Linked DNA regions of Homo sapiens: all the other regions are linked to region 1. The links are contacts of gene promoters, found by promoter capture Hi-C in blood cells and fetal thymus (Javierre and others, 2016). All regions are on one chromosome and are shown on one strand. The core of a region is centred on a gene start or on the middle of the fragment in contact, and the rest is flanking DNA. Distances in the headings are between cores, read along the strand shown.

Region 1 (4,431 bases), core at 633-3,132:
CAGGTGCCTTAAAAGCCGCAGTTGGGTGCACACCATCAGCACTGACATTTACTATCTGTTAAGTAGTTTCAAAGTGCAATAGCATAAGTCAAATAACTGGCTTGGAGCGTGAAGTTTATGACAACAACTAGCACGTCTGGAGACACTGGGAAGGTGTGATGCCTGTCACAATTTTCATCAGGCCAGCAACAGGCAGCCAGGCTGCGGCAAGACCGAACCTCAGCACAGGTGCCTTTTCTCATTTCAGGAGGGAAACCTAGGCCCGTAGCTTCACGGATAATTGAACAAGGATTGTTCCATAAATTTATAATGTTATTTATAACTTTCTTGTAATTGCCTTTTAGTAGCTTTCAAAAACAACATTTTTAGGGCAAAAGTAACTGAGATTATAAAGTAGTTAGGTATTTCAGCTTCAAATTGAGAAAAGGGAAAATGTTAAATAGGAGAAGCACCTAAAAAGTATATAAAGCCCAAAGGGCCACATTCAATAAAGTTATAATTTTCAGAAATGACAAAAGTCCAAATGTCGAAGTTATCCCTGGTGGCACGTTATTTAAATTTACAATTAGGAATATCTCCTTAATGGATAATTTACAAATTTATAATTAGGAATACCTCCTATTATTCTTACAATAATTCTAAGAAATTTTAAGGGTAAAAAAAATATGGGACACAGAAACATTTGTGAACCTTCAGTTCCTGAACCAATTTAAAAAACAAAAAACAAAGAAACCAGGCTAAGCTCAAATCAGAGTGCCTCAATACCCAACGTTAATTTCACTACATCTCCCTTCCAAACACAATATGCCTGTTCCCGATCTGGGAGTCGGTTCAAGTTTTCAGGTGAAGACTAACGACAGACAGCGAAACCCCCAAACGCGCGTTTTTAAACTCTGAGGGGCAAAGTCAGTCACACCCACTAGCAGGGCCCGGCGGGGGGCGGGAGCCCCTTCCCAGCTCGGGACCTCCGGCCAGTCTGGGCGCCCCCGCCAAGAGCTCGCAGCCCAGGCTCCCGCGCCAAGGACGGCCTGAGGGATGCCACAGGTGGCCCGGAGGGCTCGTTCCCCAACTGGCAGTGAGGCCCTAGCCCACCCCCGCCGCCCAGAGGCCGAAGGTGTCCTGCAGCCTCCACGTGGGCACCTCGAAGCCTAGGGAAGTTCCTAACAGGGCTCAGGTGGCCCCTCGGGTCCGTTAGCCTGGCGCGCGGCGTCGGCCCGGGGCAGCGACTCCAGCCTTGCCTCGGGGCCGGGTCCCCGGAGGGGCGTCGGGAAGCCGGTGGGCGGAGGAGCCCGGGTACGGGCGGCTCCTCGGCCCCGCCGGAGCAGCCAGCCCCACATCCCTCCCGGGACCCCTCGGGGCACCGCGGGCCGGCGCCGCCCCAGCCCCCCGCGCGGCCGGGTCTCCGGGACAACAGCCGCCGTGTCCGAACGGGCCCGCGCCCCCGCGGCCGGCGCCCACCTGTCCCGGGGGTCGATCCAGCTGGTCCTCCTGGTGTTGTGGTCAATGTAGAAGACCTTGCCGTCGTAGTCCCTGGCCTCCTCCCAGCCCCGGGGCAGCGGCAGCTGACCGCTCCCGGCCCTCCTAGGCATGGTCGGCGGCCTCGCCGGCGAGCGGCGCCTCCATAGGTACCGGGCGCGGGACGCGGCGGGAACGCGGCTGCCGGGCTAGGCTGCCAACCCGCGACGCGGGCGCCGGCGAGGGGCTGAGGGGCGCAGGGCGCGGGGCGCGGCGGAACCACGCGCGGGAGGTGCCTCAGGAAACGCTGTTCGCGGCCCCGCTGCGGATCAGTCCACCATGTCTGCGTCGGAGCCGGCGAGCGAACCCTCCTCCCCCTCGCCGCCGCTGCCTCCGCCTCTTCCTCCTCCTCCGCCCCGTCCCCCTCTGGCCGCCGAGGGTCGCGGCGCCCAGGCTGCCGGAGCCGCCGCCGTCTGGGCTCGGATCCGGGAAGCTGCGGCGCTGCCGCGGCAGCGGCGGGCCCCTCATTTGCATGCGATTAGCATGCGCCCGCCCGCCTCATCTGCATGCGCATTCCTCGCGCCGCATTCCTGAGCTTAACCCCGCCGCTGCCGGCGTCGCCGCACCAGCTCGGACGCACTGCCCCGCGGGGCCGCGGCTCCAGGTGGGAGGAAGGCGGGCGAAGGAATGTGCGGCCAGCTCCCTCCCCTTGACCCCAGATAGCTCCCCTGGGCCAAACGCCGAGAGGTTTTAGAGTTTCTGGACGGGGAAGATTGCAAAAGTCTCCGCAACCTTCTCAACCTCTTTCGTCTTCTAGGGAAACCACAAAACTTTCGAGAGGAAAGGGGTGGCGGGCGGGGAGCTCTCCTCCGGAGAAAAAACCTCAACAAGCGGAGAGGGCACAAAGGCTCCCCACGCCGCGCCCCGAGCCCCTCCGGCACCCCAAGGGCGGTCCGGGGTGGTGGGAAAGCGCCAAGCCCTGGGAGTGCGTCGGTGGGTCCGGGACGGCGGGGCCTCCGCCAGGGCTCCTGGCCCTCGATGACCTCGGCTGAGACCGCGAGCCGCGCGGCGGAAAGCGGAGGAACTCCCGTCCGGCCCTGTAGCCGCCCGCACCGCGCCCCGTCACCCGCCGCCCCTTCGCGTCCGGGCGCTCCAGCCGCGGGGCCCCGGAAGCTCCTGGTCCCTGGCCTCCCCTGCTTGGTTCGGGGCGGTTGGCCGTGGACGCGCCCCGACTCTAGTCCCTTCCGTCCAGCCGCCCGCCCCAGGATGTCCCCCCACCGCAGCCCCGCCGTGGCCAGGAGGTGTGGGCGGCCACGCCGGAGGGACCCACGGCGGCGCCGGACGCCCGCCCTTCCTAGGCCCTGGCCCGGCCGGGGTGGGCCGGGACGTTCCCTGTTGCATAGGCATTTATTTATTCAGCAGCTACTACGTACGTGCTGGCCCGCACTGCCGAGGGACCGGACGCCTGCCCCAGGCGGGACAATGCCGGGTGCAGCGCTGGCGGGGCCTGGACGCCAAGCTTCAGGGTCCCCAGCCCCTCAGTCAGAGGGGGCGCCTCCCAGGCCCTGGACTCCTCTCCAGCCGGGTCTACACCACCGTCCCCCGTCATCTTCTTCTGGGTTACTGAGCAGCTTCTTTTAAAATAGCAACACCGAGGAAGGCCCCGAAGCCCAGTCTTGCACCTCGTGGTGTGAAGTCGTTTAATCCTGCCCGCTAATGCGTAAGGACTTTCCACCGTGTGCAGGACTCCGCGCTGGGCAGGGGCTCTCGCAGGGTTTGAACCGACCTCCGCCTCCCCTGCGGGTTCACAGGCCTGCGAGGAAGTCGCGTGAAGGAGATTCGCTACTGTGTGAGGCTGGCCTGCGCGGCGTGGGCAGTAGCTGTCCGGGGCTGGGGACAGCTTTCGGCTCCCCAGGCCATCCCGTCGGGGCATCTGCGGCCAATCTCGAAGGTGGAGAGGCTCAGGGTTGGAACAGACTTCACGGAAGGGGTCCTAGAAGAGGAAAGGGGTCGTGTTTGCCCTTAGAGCAGTCTGGGCGTGAAGCGGAAACTTTAAACCACCAGAAACTCTGGAGAGCTTGGAGCACCTGGGAAGGAGCAACCAGAGTGGGCCGGAGGTAGGGAAGGAAGGCACCCACGGCGAATTTGCCCGCTTTGACCGCATTTAGGGCGGCCGCTTGTGCAGCCAGCCTTCTGGAAGGTAGGCTTTGCGCTTGGTGAAGAGAAGCCCCCACCTCCGGATCTGTGTTCCGCCCCAGTCCATTCATCAGGAGGTGATCACACAAGTCAAGCTTCTCTAGTTCCCGGTGGAATGAGACGCCCTGGTGGGGTCTTAAGGTTGAACGTTTGAATACTGTAAAAAAGATGGGACCTGCCTACAATTAATCTCTCACACTACTGAGCGAATGTGCGTTGTTTTGGACTTCCCTAAATTGGCCCAAATGCATAGCCAACACTTGAATTGCGGTGTACTAACAACATCATTCAGCACCAAACCAAACCATTCTTATTTAAACCTTGCTTCCTAGCTTATTTATTTCCCAAACAACTTGAAAACATTTGTTATACTAAAATGTCTACATCTTACTATTAAAAAAAAAAAACCAAAGTAACACACTTTGCTGCTGCCGTAATTTTATGTCACTGAGATGAACTATTCTACAATACTTGTAATTTCAAATTTGTTAAACTTTCAGCTAAGTAGTTTTACCCAAATTCTAAAACCAGTGAGGAATCCAAAATAGCACGCAGCATTAAATGACGTTTATTGTTCCATAAATCTTCAGACTTCAAAAAGAAACGCTAAATAGACAAACAGAACTCTAAAGCAATTAAGAGACAAGCTCGCTGCTTCTTCCCCACTGACTGGCAAGGAAACATTTGGTCATACAAAAGCCATTAAAATGACGGAAAGGAGAGTTGCCACTCTCTAGCCTTTTTTGTTCTGATCAAGTTTGAACTCTGCTGTTCGGAGTT
Region 2 (4,431 bases), core at 1,166-3,665, 110 kb before region 1:
GTAAATGCATAAAAGGCAACCTGGCAGAGGCAGGTGCAGAAACAGAAGGCATGCATAACCCCCAAACAGGGATTCTTTTATCTGAAGTAGGGGTGAGAAAATCTGGGGTGTGCCCTCACCTCTCAATGGTTTTGAGAGACTCTTCCTGCTTAGGAGGGAAAAGGACTCAAAATTAAACTCCATAGAAATGTAAGTGGTCTTCTGTTATCTACAATTCAGTCTCCACTTCCAAAGTCTGAATAGCCACACTGTACTTACAGCTTGTGTGAGAACTTGACTTTTCCTTATAGGCATCATTTAATCGCACGTATTCATCCAGGGCCAGCGCCAGCCTCTGCTCCTTCACATGGTACAGTTCCTTCTGTGTCCGGAGGGCATCCTGTGCCACAGAGAGGTAGTCCTTGAGCATCTTCTCCTGTTCCCCCCTCCATTGTTTTCTTGGATCTTCTATCTGCGTGGTTTCTGAAAACATTAGGTGGAGGGTACTTTTTAGAATTTAACTTTGTTTTCCGGCTTGTTTAAGCTTTAGGGAGTAGGCTAGCTTAAGTTCTTGTATCCTCTAAGGAGTTTATTTAGCTGTGCTGGAGTGACTTCTCCAGAAATTTTAGTTTTATTTTACCCAGTCTCATCAACTTCCTTCCTCTTCCAGGTTCTGATCAACAGTGTATTCTCACTATAAATCTACCACACACAATGTTGTCAATCAGATCATTCAAGAATTCTGTGGCTCCCCAGTGCCTACAGAATAAAAGCCAAGCTATTCATTCCAGCACTCAATGCCCTGCATAAGCTGGACCCAACCCACCTTCATTCACCTAATACAGGACTGTAGACACACTGCCCTCTGCATCAGCACTAATCAAAGTTGGTCTACTCTGCAGACCAACACCAGTCCATGAACTCAGTTTTATGTCCGCAACAGTAATGACAGAAATAGAAAACATTTTGTAATCATTATAGCGATTTTAGTCAGTTATTGTTTATCTGTTGATAAATACTATGCATTTCTTTGTGTGTATACATTTTCACTTTTCCAGTAATTCACTTTTTCTTGTATTTTACAAAAATATCAGTGAGTCCGCAGTGGATCTGAAATTTAAAAATAAACAAACAAACAGAACCCTGGTCCTGTTTATACAGAATGCTCTAGCCTAAGGCCCTGGTTCTTGCTTCTGCACTTCCACAAACTACAATCAACCAGAGACCCTTTTAAAAAAAAAAAACCCAGACCAACTAGAGTTTCTGTGGATGCAACCCAGGCACGGTAGATTTCAAAGCTGCTCAGGTGATTCCATTGAGCAGCCGAGCCCAAGAACCAGTGTTCTGCAACAGCATTCACATGCTGCCTCCTCCAGAAGGTGCCCCAGCCACCTCATCTGCAAGTCAGCCCTTTATCCTCTGTCTTCCATGGCAGCTTATGCTCAGTTTATAAACTCCAAACACATTCTTTACTGTGTGGTGAAGCTACAGTAGGGGCCACAAAACATGAAGAAAAACAAAAATGAAAGAATCAGATTACCCTAAACATTTTATGTTCTCACATTTTAAAATTAACATATTTTTTGACCACATGTTGGGCCAAGGAGTTGGAGTGTACTGCTGTCCAGCATTGGGATACCATGGTGTATACAAGAGAACGGACAGTTTTGGTGATGGTTAGTGCAGGCTGGTTAAGAGCTATCCCCCTGTGTCTGCAGACATGTACTGGACCCCTCTGCTGTGAAAGAAAGGAGAGTGGCCATTTGCCAGTAGAGGAAGGGGTTGAGAATGGGACAGAGTAAATAAAAGAGGTTTCCTGGATGCTGATGTTCTATTTCTTTCACCCATCGAAATTACACAGTTCACTTCTAAAATATTTGTTAAACTATGTTATTTCAGTCTATGCACTTTTCTGTGTGTAGTATTCAGTAATACATGTTTTAAAATAAAAGTGGAATAGTTCAAAGGCATAAAAACTATGGTATTGTGACTTAAGATCTCGTCTCTAGCAGGATATTGTATCCGAGTGGACCCCACTCCCAACAACAGCAAACACAAACAGGGGATAATTTGGGACAAAAAGAAGTATGGCTTTAATACAGAAAACACATGAAGCTTGATACACAAAAGGTTAATAGAGATTTTTAAAAAACAAAGCAAAACACAAAGAAGGCCATGGTGGAATAACAGGGCCACTGTAACTAGAAGATAAAATATATGAACAATGGTTTTCAGATGTTGGACAACAGGTAGTACAGGATTGTGATCTCTGAGAGAAGGGAAATGAACCCCACGATTACCCTACATTTCTGTCTGAAAGCACTTTTTGGACAGCAGTGCAAAGAGGGGTAACTCAAGCAGAGAAAGGAGGCACTGCTGAATTGCAGGGAGAGGGAAGCAGATTTCACGGAAGCCATGACAGGTGGAATTTGTAAAGCAAAGCACAGTAGAAGCTCCAGAGACTGGAGAAGTTCCAGAAATTTGCACAGGGGTCACAAGAAGTCTGTGAGTGAATGCTGAGATGACAACGGGAAATGCACAAGGCCAGGCAAAGGACAACTGGGACGCTATAGGCAGATAAATTCCCCGAGCTCACACAGGGCTGTGACAGTTTCAAATTATGACCAGCCAGAGGAGAAAGGCCACAGTGAACATCTAGGGAATCCAGTGGAGACCACAGCAAAGTTACACCTTAACAACAGAGCTAAATAAGACATAGGGTAAAGGCTACTCTGAACCTAACCTAACAAAGCTTTGAAACAAGCTTCTAAAAGACCAAGCTGGTCAGCAAGTAACTTAACTGCCGGTCAGAAGAAAAAAAATATAAAACTCCCTAAAAGGCACAAAACCTAGCACTCAATGAAAACAACAACAACAAAACCAACTTTATAATGTCTAGCATCCACTATAATGTTACCAACATAAAAAGCACAAAAATATGGCCCATAATCTGGAGAAAAATCAGTCAATAGAAACAGATCTCGAAATGTAGAAAGGATGGAATAAGCATAATCTAGATAAAACAGCTATGTTGCAACAGAATAGAGTCCAAAAATAAACCTGCACATCTACTGACTATTGTGCAAATAGCCAGTAAGCAGATGAAAGGAGACTCAACATCACTAATTATCAGCGAAATACAAGTCAAAACTATAATGGGATACCATTGCTCACTATGTAAAATGGCTAGAATTTAAAAACTGGCAATGCCAAGTGTTGAAGAGGATGTGGTGCAATTGGAATTCTCATTCATTGCTACCGGGAATCTAAAATGGTCCAATCACTTTGGAGAACAACTTAGCAATTACCATACAACCTAGCAATCCTACAACTTGTTATTTACCCAAGAGATATGAAAATATGTATCTACAAAAAGACCTCTAAACAAATGCTCATTAGCAGCTTTATTCATAATAGACAAAACTATTACAGGTAATGGCTAAGCAAACTGTGGTATATCCATACAATAAAATACTACTCAGCAATAAAATGAAACAAAATACTCAACAGCAATATATAAGACTCTCAAACACATGTTGAGTGAAAAGATGCCAGACACAAAAGACCACATGCTGTATGATTCCATTTATATGAAATTCGGGCAAAAGTAAAGCCAATCCAATGACAGAAAGTGATTGCCTGGGCCCAGCAGTACTGAGAAGTACTTGTTACAACAGAGCAAGAAGAAAGCTCTTTTTGAGGGGATGGAAATGTTCCCTATCTTGATTATTGTGATAGTTACATGGTATACACCTGTCAAAACTCATGAATTGTATAGTGAAAATAGATGCAATTTATGTATTTGTATATAATAATAAAGCTGATTTACAGTTTATTATTAAAATATGCTTTACAAGGTTCAAATGAATGACTGATGATGACTGATAAAGAGAAATGAGGTATAATGGAACAGCAATAAAATCCTTTGCCACTACCAGCTGTTGAAAAGAGCACTGGTTAGGGAGTAAGGCCGTGTGGGTTCCATATCCACCTAGCCAGATGTGAGACTCTAAGTATTTTACCTCTCTTACTCTCATGTCTCTCGATTGTAAAAAGAGGCTGAAATATGGACGAATATTTTCTGATGCAGCCTTTGTAGCAGACACTGTTGGTGTCCTATCCTGGTATTCTCGGGTCTTTCTGCCACAGCCTGCTGTTTGTTGTTGATGGATGTCTGACTGCTCTAGAGCACTTCGCTAACTCACCTGCAGCCAATGACTGACAAGTGAAGAAGACAGAAAGAACTCCCAGGTAGGGCAAACTCTGAGGTAGAAATTGTACTTTAGAGCCACCACAATCATGTGGAGTCAGAGACTTTGCAGAAATAAAACCTTCAGCTGTTTTTTTCCCTCCACTTTCTTTCTTTCCTCATTTCCTTACTGGTTTATCCTGGGATTTCCTTCATAAACCACTTTCACTTAAATTCTTGGCTTAGGGTTTGCTTCTGAGAGA
Region 3 (4,431 bases), core at 1,306-3,805, 89 kb before region 1:
GATTACATTTGGAAATAATCCAGTTTGTTCCACTAACTGGTTAGCAGATAAGCATTTAATTGTCACTGTTCTAAGACTACAATTACATCTACAGGTATACATGTACTTGTGAACTCTGAAAAATTCAGAAGATTCCATTCTTAAAATTTTTAATATAAAAATTTCTTTGCAGAGTTCCTTCAAATATAAATTTAATACTTTATTTTCTATATATGGATAAATATATATACTTTCTCTGCACTCTATCAATAAGTAAAACCATTACATAGATATTTGTAAATATTAAAGTTTTAGGACTGAATTCTTATGCAAATTATAAAATATAAATAGAACAACATTCTCAGGTTCCAAACAAATTAAGTACCCAATTATGGTGCTATCCTGATAAAAAGAAAATATTACTATGACGTACTAAGAGGTAACACAAAGCAAAAAGAACTAACAGATGTATTCCAAAATTACAAACAATATAAATTAAAACAAATACAGTGAACGGAAATGTTAATTAACTTTTAAATTTCTTCCTCTTGTTGTGCACAAGGAATTTCTTACACATTCAAGCTTTCTTTGATGTTAAGTCAGTAAAAATGGATGGAGTTTGTTTTTGGTTGGTTCCCTGCAAAGGAGCAACAACAAGCAACAACAACAATAACAACAAAATCCTGAAATTAACTAGAGTCTTAATGCTGAATTCCAGAGATTACTCTTTGCTTAAAAAGGTCTTCCTTTGCACCATGCAAAGGAATTTCATATTATGAAGAAAACGGTAATTTACTGCAGCACTTTGCCAACGTTTATATGCAAAATTTAACTCTGTGTGGTATTTCTTCTCCTTGCTGGCATTATATCATTCTTTCACAGTCATTTAATATTTATTGTCAACTCAAATACATGTCCTACGACATGAGATGCCACACAGTGATGTATTTGTTCACTTCACAATTACATGATGGTGAGTACAAGCACAACTCCAAAAAAACCTGAGTTTGTACTAACTGCACTAAATGAATAAGCACTTAAAAAAAACATTTCAGGTTACTAAAACTCTTGCCACAATTCAGAGCCTCCCAAATGTACAGTTTAGCACACACATTAAAAGTCTTAACAGTTATTTTTACTTTGTAGCATCTGCTGTTCTCATTGTTTAGCTAACACAAAGCAGAGCGAATCCTGTCAACTGCTTATGATTACTACAGAATCTGCTCACAGAAACATCACTGAATTGCTCTAAGAGAACAGGGAGGAAGTAAAGATGTGTTTCACAACTTGAATTTTAAAGCAAGGATAAAGCACTAGAAATCTTTCCACAGTCCTAAAAGAATCTTCATTTATAATGATGTCAATTAGTTCCCTCGAAATAACTTTTTTTTTTTTTTTTGAGACTGAGTCTCGCTCTATCACCCAGGCCACAGTGCAGTGGCGCGATCTCGGCTCACTGCAACCTCCACCTCCCTGGTTCAAGCAATTCCCCTGCCTCAGCCTCTCGAGTAGCTGGGATTGCAGGCGCCCGCCACCACGCCTGGCTAATTTTTTTGTATTTTTAGTAGAGACGGGGTTTCACCATGTTGGCCTGACTGGTCTCAAACTCCTGACCTCAGGCAATCCACCTCCCTCAGCCTCCCAAAGTGCTAGGATTACAGGCATGAGCCACTGCGCCTGGCCAACAACTTCTATCTATCACTAGATAGGGAAACTAGCAACACAAAGAAACAAACAAAGGAAAATAGTAGAAAACAGTGGATGGAGGCAACAAGAAAAAAAATGGCTTTCAAGAAAAATTATACAAACCACTTTGGAAGATAATAATGAGATTCCTTCCCTGTGTGTGAGGAAATTAGCTTAAATGATTGGAAGGAAGTCATATTAGAGGGGCAGGCACGGTGGTTCATGCCTGTAATCTCAGCACTTTGGGAGGCCAAGGTGGACGGATCACCTGAGGTCAGGAGTTCGAGACCAGCCTGGCCAACTTGGTGAAACCCCCGTCTCTACTAAAAATACAAAAATTAGCCAGGCGTGGTGGCACATGCCTATAATCCCAGCTACTCAGGAGGCTTAGGCAGGAGAATCGCTTGAACCCGGGAGGTGGAGGTTGCAGTGAGTGAAGATCGGGCCATTGCACTCCAGCCTGGGGACAAGAGCGAGACTTCGTCTCAAAAAAAAAAAAAAAAAAAGAAAGGAGCAAGAGAGAGAGAGAGATCATATTAGATAGAGAGAGAGAGATCATATTAGATAGAATTTCTAGAAAACAAACATTAGATATCAGAATAGGTCACAATGGGCCACGTGCAGTGGCTAATACCTGTAATCCCAGCATTTTGGGATGCTGAGACAGGCAGATCACTTAAGGTCAGGAGTTCAAGACCAGCTTGGTCAACATGGTGAAAATCCATCGCTACTAAAATTACAAAAATTAGCCAGGTGTGGTGGTGGGCATCTGTAATCCCAGCTACTCGGGAGGCTGAGGCAGGAAAACTCTTGAACCTGGGAGGTGGAGGTTGTAGTGAGCCAAGATTGTGCCACTGCACTCCAGCCTGGGCGACACAGCGAGACTCTGTCTCAAAAACAAAACAAAAGAACACGTCACAATGGGGAGAATCATCTCTTCCTAAGATCATTTTTACCTAAAGACAAAAAAATAGACTTGGCAACATCTGGAGGCTCCAATCTAGCCTCACTCCCCCGTTCTTCCTGCCATGAGCCCTTTTGGGTGTCTGGCAACTTATATTACTGTTTACTAGAACAGTTACTCAATATTTTGAAAATCATTTTGTGACATACTAATTTTTTCAGAAAGGAAAGAAACTAATTTTATTAGTTGTCTATTATGTTCCAAGAATTATGCAAGGTTGTTTCATATGTTATCTCATTTAGCCCTAATAACAACCCTTCAAAATGGGTATTTCTGGTCTCTTTTTTTTTTATTTTTATGTATTTATTTATTGAGACGGAGTTTCACTCTTGTTGCCCAGGCTGGAGTGCAATGGCACGATCTTGGCTCACTGCAACCTCTGCCTCCCAGGTTCAAGTGATTCTCCTGCCTCAGCCTCCCAAGTAGCTAGGATTACAGGTATGCGCTACCACGCCCAGCTAATTTTTTTGTATTTTTAGTAGAGATGGGGTTTCTCCGTGTTGGTCAGGCTGGTCTCGAACTCCTGACCTCAGGTGATCTACCCACCTTGGCCTCCCAAAGTGCTGGGATTACAGGTGTGAGCCACCGCACCATGCCTATTATTATTATTATTATTATTATTATTATTATTTTGAGACGGAGTCTCGTTCTGTCGCCCAGGCTAGAGTGCAGTGACACAATCTCGGCTCATTGCAACCTCCGCCTCCCAGGTTCAAGCGATTCTCCTGCTCAGCCTCCTGTGTAGCTGGGACTACAGGTGCGTGCCACCATGCCCAGCTAATTTTTGTATTTTTAGTAGAGACAGGGTTTCACCATGTTGGCCAGGCGGGTCTCAAACTCCTGACCTCAGGTAATCCACCCGCCTCGGCCTCCCAAAGTGCTGAGATTACAGACGTGAGCCACTGCGCCCAGCCCCTATTCCCGTTTTTTACAGATTTAATTCTGTATGTGACACATCCAGAATTTTGTGTTTTATGTGAAACGTAAAACGTGTCACAAAATCCTGTGTTTTAGATCCTGTCTGTGTGCAGTGGGGGGATATAACAAGGAAAGGATTTGGTGCTTGCCCTGGGGAGCCAAGGTGAGGACAGCCAAGCAGATAACTAATTTGTCACCCTAGGACTTGGCCAGGAAAGCCCCTAGCCTGGTGCAATGGGTTAGGAAGGAGACTGCTGCTCCAAGATTTAAATGATTCACCCAGTGCTACAGAGCTGGCAGGAAACATAACGAGGTAGCCTAACCAAGATCACTTCTTCAGATTAGTTCATGTTATGTCTGCACCTGCTTGGGTCCTCAGACAATTCTCCCCTCTGTTGGTCCTAGGTCTGGTCCTCCTACAGCTGGCATGAGTTTTGTCACCTGGTACCAACGAGAATTAGTTTGATACCTCCTCCACATGACAGACTTTCAAATATCTGAACACAACTGTGTTGTCTCCCAGGTCTGCTCCCTGAGACCCACACACCCCACTCCTCTCTACATGTCTCGCATCCCCTCCTCCAGGCTAGCCTGCCAGTCTCCTGCCCTTACCCCAGCCGCTCCTCTCTACTCTGCAGTCTCATTCCATCTCTCATTATCTGATATTTATCTCTTCTCATATGGTTAATTTTTTCTCCTTCAGTCTATATTCAATGCCCCCTACCCTAAAAAACCTTTCCTCAAACCTTCTGATTCTTCTTTTGACATTCACTTACTAACCATTCCTAACCATTCCCTCATCCTAACCTAGAGGCTGTAAACAGGAGGACTTTAGGAGGCCCTATCATAGAATTTCCCTTCTGCCATCTAACACTTAATCCTAC

The links. Contacts are between HindIII fragments. The CHiCAGO score rates a contact against its expected background, and 5 or more counts as called.
Region 2: a contact is called between a fragment that was not itself captured here and the fragment with the promoter of WWC2-AS2 in region 1, in 3 of 17 cell types (endothelial precursors, erythroblasts and megakaryocytes). The highest score is 8.4, in endothelial precursors.
Region 3: a fragment that was not itself captured here is called in contact with the fragment with the promoter of WWC2-AS2 in region 1 in 1 of 17 cell types (endothelial precursors); the score reaches 5.3 in endothelial precursors.

The regions. Positions count from the first base shown.
Region 1 is chr4:183,096,650-183,101,080 of GRCh38, reverse strand. It overlaps WWC2-AS2 (WWC2 antisense RNA 2), which reads left to right and starts at 1,882. Exons shown (of 1, transcript NR_024008.1): 1 at 1,882-4,060. It overlaps WWC2 (WW and C2 domain containing 2), which reads right to left and starts at 1,824. Exons shown (of 23, transcript NM_024949.6): 1 at 1,459-1,824. The coding sequence starts at 1,589. RefSeq lists a silencer at 2,771-3,065 and enhancers at 2,771-3,065, 4,411-4,431. The HindIII fragment of the contact is 3,980 bases long and covers 1-2,976 here.
Region 2 is chr4:183,203,984-183,208,414 of GRCh38, reverse strand. It overlaps WWC2 (WW and C2 domain containing 2), which reads right to left. Exons shown (of 23, transcript NM_024949.6): 3 at 259-462. Among named protein-coding and RNA genes, the nearest start is that of WWC2-AS1, 34 kb to the left of the region's middle. The HindIII fragment of the contact is 637 bases long and covers 2,097-2,733 here.
Region 3 is chr4:183,186,384-183,190,814 of GRCh38, reverse strand. All of the region lies in intron 1 of WWC2 (WW and C2 domain containing 2), which reads right to left. Among named protein-coding and RNA genes, the nearest start is that of WWC2-AS1, 52 kb to the left of the region's middle. The HindIII fragment of the contact is 3,983 bases long and covers 564-4,431 here.